2 separate regions of the Homo sapiens genome follow, and region 1 is linked to region 2. The links are contacts of gene promoters, found by promoter capture Hi-C in human tissues and cell types (Jung and others, 2019). All regions are on one chromosome and are shown on one strand. Each heading gives the region's core, a stretch centred on a gene start or on the middle of the fragment in contact. The rest is flanking DNA. Distances are from core to core; before and after follow the strand shown.

The links. Contacts are between HindIII fragments. The study calls those that stand out against the background at their distance.
Region 1: a fragment that was not itself captured here is called in contact with the fragment with the promoter of VSTM1 in region 2 in 1 of the 25 tissues and cell types used here (adrenal gland).

The regions. Positions count from the first base shown.
Region 1 is chr19:52,179,648-52,182,999 of GRCh38, forward strand. No RefSeq gene overlaps it. Among named protein-coding and RNA genes, the nearest start is that of PPP2R1A, 8.7 kb to the right of the region's middle. The HindIII fragment of the contact is 6,111 bases long and covers 1-3,352 here.
Region 2 is chr19:54,062,647-54,065,978 of GRCh38, forward strand. VSTM1 (V-set and transmembrane domain containing 1) reads right to left here and starts at 1,251. Exons shown (of 9, transcript NM_198481.4): 1 at 1,098-1,251. The coding sequence starts at 1,131. The HindIII fragment of the contact is 40,052 bases long and covers 1-3,332 here.

The DNA.
Region 1 (3,352 bases), core at 372-2,871, 1.9 Mb before region 2:
GGAGGCCGAGGCGGGTGGATCACGAGGTCAGGAGATCGAGACCATCCTAGCTAACATGGTGAAACCCCGTCTCTACTAAAAATACAAAAAATTAGCCAGGTGTGGTGGTGGGCGCCTGTAGTCCCAGCTACTCCAGAGGCTGAGGTAGGAGAATGGTGTGAACCCGGGAGGCAGAGCTTGCAGTGAGCTGAGATCATGCCACTGCACTCCAGCCTGAGCGACAGAGCGAGACTCCGTCTCAAAAAAAAAAAAAAAATGCTTTATTAGGCTAGGTCTGGTGGCTCATGCCTGTAATACCAGCATTTTGGGAGGCCTAGGTGGCTGGATCACCTGACGTTGGGAGTTCGAGACCAGCCTGACCAACACAGTGAAACCCCATCTCTACTAAAAATACAAAATCAGCCAGACGTGGTGGCACATGCCTGTAATCCCAGCTACTTGGCAGGAGAATTGCTTGAACCCATGAGGTGGAGGTTGTAGTGAGCTGAGATCATGCATTGCTCTCCAGCCTGGGCAACAAGAGCAAAACTCCACCTCAAAAGAGAAAGACAGAAAGAAAGAAAAACTACTTTATTGAGGTATGATTGACATATAAAAAACTGTAGATATTTAATGTATACAACTTCACGTGTTTGGAAATAAGTATACATCCTTGAAACTATTATCACAACTAATGCCATAAACTTATCAATTGCCTCCAAAAATTCCCTTCCAGTTCATTTCTTCACTCCGCTTTGGTTTTGTTTGTCCTTTTGTGATAACATAAGATCTTATATAAGACCTACCCTTTCAGCAAAGTTTTAAATGTACAACGCCGTATTTGTTAATCATGTGCCCTATGTTGTACGGTAGGCCTCCAGAACTTGTTTATCTTGCAGGACTGAAACTTTGTACACTTTCCTTTTTGTTTTTGTTTTTTTGCTTTTTGCTTTTTTAATTTCCCCATGAAATTAAAAAAAAAAAGTTTCTCTTCATGAGAAACTTTGCACACTTTGACCAACACCTTTTCATTTCCTCCCACCTCTCAGCCTCTTGCAACCACTATTCTGCTTTCTGCTTCTGTGTGTTTGACTATTTTGGATTCCACATATAAATGAGGTCATACGGCCGGGCGCGGTGGCTCACGCTCCTAATCCAAGCACTTTGGGAGGCCGAGGCAGGCAGATCACAAGCTCAGGGGTTCAAAACCAGCCTGGCCAACATAGTGAAACCCAGTCTCTACTAAAAATAAAAAAACAAAATTAGCCGGGCATGGGGGTGGGCGCCTGTAGTCCCAGCTACTCAGGAGGGCAGGAGAATGGCGTGAACCCAGAAAGCAGAGCTTGCAGTGAGCTGAGATCGTGCCACTGCACTCCAGCCTGGGTGACAGAGCGACACTCTGTCTCAAAAAAAAAAAACATACGAGATCATATGTTATTTGTCTTTCTGTGTCTGTCTTATTTTACTTTGCATAATGTCCCTTAGGTTCGTCCAAGTCATCACAAATGACAAGATTTCCGTTTTTTTCCTTTTTATTTGAGACGCAGTTTCACTCTGTCGCCCAGGCTGGAGCGTAGTGGTGCGATCTTGGTCCACTGCAACTTCGACCTCCTGGGTTCAAGCAACTCTTCTGCCTCAGCCTCCCGAGTAGCTGGGATTACAGGTGTGCACCACCATGCCCAGCTAATTTTTTTGTATTTTTTTAGTAGAGATGCGGTTTCACCATGCTGGCCAGGCTGCTCTCGAACTCCTGACCTCATGTTCTGCCCGCCTTGGCCTCCCAATGTGCTTGGATTACAGGCGTGAGCCACTGTGCCTGGCCTGTTTTTTTTGAGACGGAGTTTCACTATTGTCACCCAGGCTGGAGTGCAATGTCCCTATCTCGGCTCACTGCAACCTCCAACTCCTGGGTTCAAGCGATTCTCCTCCCTCAGTCTGCCGAGTAGCTGGGATTAGAGGCACCCACCAACATGCCCGGCTAGTTTTTTGTATTTTTAGTAGAGACGGGGGTTTCACTATGTTGGCCAGGCTGGTTTTGAACTCCTGACCTCAGGTGATCCACCAGCCTCGGCCTCCCAAAGTGCTGGGATTACGGGCGTGAGCCACCACGCCTGGCCTAGATTTCCATTTTTTTAAAGGCTGAATAGTGTGTGTGTGTGTGTGTGTGTGTGTTTATCCATTTATCAGTGAACATTTAGGTTTTTTCCACATCTTGGTTATTGTGGCAATAAACATAGGAGTGCAGATCTCTCTCCAAGATATTGATTTCATTCCTTTGGATATATACCATGAAGGGGGATTGCTGAATCACCTGGTAGTTCTATTTTTAATTTTTTGAGGAACCTCCATAATGTTTTCTACCAATTTACATTCCCACCAATGGTGTACAAGGGTTCCCTTTCTCCACATCCTTGCCAATACTATTTCCCGTTAATATTATTTTGTTTTTGAGACAGTCTCGCTCTGTCGCCCAGGCTGGAGTGTAGTGGCACAATCTCGACTCACTGCAACCTCCACCTCCAGGGTTTAAGCGATTCTCCTGCCTCAGCCTCCTGAGTAGCTGGGACTACAGGCATGAGCCACCATGCCCGGCTGTTTTCTTTTGTTTTTTTGAGGCAGAGTCTTGCTCTGTCATACAGGCTGGAGTGCAGCGGCACATTCATGGCTCACTGTAGCCTCACCTCAATCTCCTGGACCGAACCAATCCTCCCACCTCAGCCTCCCAAGTACAGTAGCTGGGACCGCAGGCAGATGCCACTATACCCAGCTTATTTATTTATTTATGTTTGAGATGGAGTTCTGCTCTTGTTGCCCAGGCTGGAGTGCAGTGGCGTGATCTCGGCTCACTGCAACCTCCGCCTCCCGGGTTCAAGCGATTCTTCTGCCTCAGCCTTCCTGAGTAGCTGGGATTACAGGCATGTGCCCCCACACCTGGCTAATTTTGTATTTTTAGTATAGACGGGGTTTTTCCATGTTGGTCAGGCTCGTCTCGAACGCCCAACCTCAGATGATCCGCCACCTCGGCCTCCCAAAGTGCTGGGATTACAGGAGTGAGCCACCGCGCCCGGCTATTTCTATATTTTGAGACGGAGTCCCGCTCTATTGCCCAGGCTGGTGTGCAGTGATGTGTGATCTCAGCTCACTGCGACCTCCACCTCCTGGGTTCAAGCGATTCTCCTGCCTCAGCTTCCTGAGTAGCTGGGATTACAGGAGCCCACCACCATGCCTGGCTAATTTTTGTATTTTTAGTGGTGCACATGCCTGTAATCCCAGCTACTCGGGAGGCTGAGGCACAAGAATCCCTTAATCCCAGGAGATGGAGGCTGCAGTGAGTCGAGATTGTGCCACTGCACTCCAGCCTGGGCAACAGAGA
Region 2 (3,332 bases), core at 1-2,500:
CCAGGAGGTGGAGGTTGCAGTGAGCTGAGATCACACCACTGCACTCCAGCCTGGGAGACAAAGCAAGACTCTGTCAAAAAAAAAAAAAAATGCTCATCTAAGGTGCAAATGTGTGTAGGAGACGAGCATTACCCCACAAGGAAGGGCTGCACCCAGAAAAGGAGGAAGGAACTGAAGCAGACGAAGCACGTCGATGTCCACCGCACCCCCCGTGCACCAGGGAGGAACTGGGGCCTTAGGGAGGTGGAGCTCTGCTGGGTCAAGCCTAGAGTTTCTATGTAGTAAAGCCGAGATTATAACCCAGGTCATCCGTTTCACAGTGTGAGCTCTGTCTGAATACATCAGGTTCAATTGGAGGATGGTTAAAATCAGCCTAAGAATCGAGCTGGTCAGAAAATTGTCTTCTTGGGGCCAGGTGTGGTGGCTCACGCCTGTAATCCCAGCACTTTGGGAGGCTGAGGCGGGCGGATCACCTGAGGTCAGGGGCTCGAGACCAGCCTGACCAACATGGTGAAACCCCGTCTCTACTTAAAATACAAAAGTCAGCCGGGTGTGGTGGCCTGCACCTGTAGTCCCACCTACTCGGGAGGCTGAGGCAGGAGAATCGCTTGAACCTGGGAGACGGAGGTTGCAGTGAGCCCAGATCACGCCATTGCACTCCAGCCTGGGCTACAGAGTGAGACTCTGTCTCATAAATAAATGCATACATACATAAATAAATAAATAAGAGAGAGAGAGAAGAAAATTGTCTTTTTGCCCACAGCCTTGCACCCTGTAGATCCCTAAGCCCAGCCCTCCTCTATTCCGACGGAGGATGATGGCAGTACTGCGGTATTTAGCGGCTGCAGACTCGGAGACCCCACAGCAGCTCTGCCTTTCCCAGCGGAGTCTGTCCCCGTGTCTCTGCAGCGCGGCCTCCTCCTCGCTTGCATGTGGGCGGCAGAACTCACAGAACCCACAGCCCAGACCCACCCACCGCAGGTGTGCAACACCTGGAAGTCATTACTTCCACACACCGCATTTCCACCTGGACTGCCACTCCCACATGAGTTTTTCTCACCAGCCCAAGCCCATTCGTCCCAGTCCTGGAGACTCACCGAGGCAAAGCAGGGAGAGGAATTCTGCGGTCATAGCGTCCCTTCTGCCAGAACCAAGGCCCCGCCTTGGGTTTTACCCTTCAAAGGCGGAGCGGGACTGGGCCGGCCGCAGCTCTCCGGCTGCCCGGTTCGTCCCCAGGATGTGCAGATAGAGGAGGTTTTGCTCTGACACTCTGGTTCTCTGCCCCACTCTTGCAGTTTCCTTCTCACAACCGACTCAGGAAACAAGAAGCCGTCGATGATAACTTCTTCCCCATGAATCCGGTGTGTGTGGCCCCACCCGCCCGAGCTCTGTCCTACCTTATCTGAAGTTCTGCCAAGAGTTTTCTGTAAATGTAATTTTTTATTTTAAAACACTAATACCGGCCGGACGCGGTGGCTCACGCCTGTAATCCCAGCACCTTGAGAGGCTGAGGCGGGCGGATCACCTGAGGTCGGGAGTTCAAGACCAGCCTGACCAAAATGGAGAAACCCCCGTCTCTACTAAAAATACAAAATTAGCCAGGCATGGTGGCGCATGCCTGTAATCCCAGCTACTCCGGAGGCTGAGACAGGAGAATGGCTTGAACCCAGGAGGCGGAGGTTGCTGTGAGCCAAGATTGTGCCACTGCACTCCAGCCTGGACAACAACGGTGAAACTGTCTCAAACAAGCAAACAAACAAACATTAATACCTATAGCTTTATAGCTTCCGTGTACCCACTAGCCAGCTCCCCACAATGTTAACCTTTTTTTGGGGGGCGGGGGGGACAGAGTCTTGCTCTGTCACCCAGGCTGGAGTGCAGTGGCGCGATCTCGGCTCACTGCAACCTCTGCCTCATGGGTTTAAGGATTCTCCTGCCTCAGACTCCCAAGTAGCTGGGATTACAAGCATGCACCACCACACCCAGCTAATTTTTTGTAGAGATGGGATTTCACCATGTGGGCCAGGCTGGTCTTGAACTCCTGGTCTCTAGTGACCCGCCCACCTCAGCCTCCCAAAGTGCTGGGATTACAGGCATAAGCCACTGTGCCCGGCCAATGGTAATCTCTTATAATTACAGTACTTTTTTTTTTTTTTTTTTTTTTTGAGACAGAATCTCTGTCAGCCAGGCTGGAGTGCAGTGGCACAATCTTGGCTCACTGCAACCTCTGCCTCCCGGGTTCAAGCGATTCTCCTGCCTCAGCCTCCCGAGTTGCCGGGATGACAGGTGTCCGCCACCACTCTTGGCTAATTTTTTTTGTTCTTTTTAGTAGAAACGAGGTTTTGCCATGTTGCCCAGGCTGGTCTCGAACTTCTGACCTCAGGCGATCCGCCTGCCTCGGCCTCCCAAACTGCTGGGATTACAGGCGTGAGCCACCACGCCCGGCGTATGGCACATTTTCAAAACCAGAGACTTTGCACTGGCATCACACGTTTAACCAGGTTCCAGAGGTCACTCAGATCTCACCAGTTTGTGCATAATTCGTTTCTCTTTTTCTCTTCCTCTTCCTTCTATTTCTATTTCCTTTTCTCCTTTTCCTTCTTTTCTCCTGCTCTTCCTCCTCTTCCACCTTCTTTTCCTCCTCCCTTTTCTTTGCCTATGGGTATAGTTCTGTAACATTTTATTGCCTGTATGTATGGCTTTATAGAACCACCGCCACAATCAAGACACAGAACTGTCCCACCACCACGTAGGAACTCCCTCATGCTGCCCCTTTATAATCGCTCTCCCACCCTAGCACCTGCTAATCTGTTCTACGTCTCTATCACTTTGTCACTTTGAGACTCTTGTATAAATGGAATCGTCCATCGCCTCACCTTCTGAGGGTGACCTTTTTCACTCAGCACAATGCCTGTGAGATTCATTCAAATGGTTGTGTGTTATGATGATGGATACATTAGCCGGGCGTGGTGGCACACGCCCATAGTCCCAGCTACTCAGGAGGCTGAGGCAGGAGAATCGCTTGAACCCGGGAGGCGGAGGTTGCAGTGAGCTGAGATCACGCCACTGCACTCCAGCCTGGGTCACAGAGCAAGACTCCATCAAAAAAAAAGAATTATCTAATGGATACAATGTGTGTCACTGGGTTAGTGGATACCTGAAAGCCCTAACTTCATCATTTTGGAATCTATCCATGCAATAAAGTTACACTTGTACCCCATAAACGTATACAAATAAAAAATAATCGTCTGGGCATGATGACTTACCGCTGTAATCCCAGCACTTTGGGAGGCTGAGGCGGGATTACAGGTGTGAGCCACCATGCCCGGCCT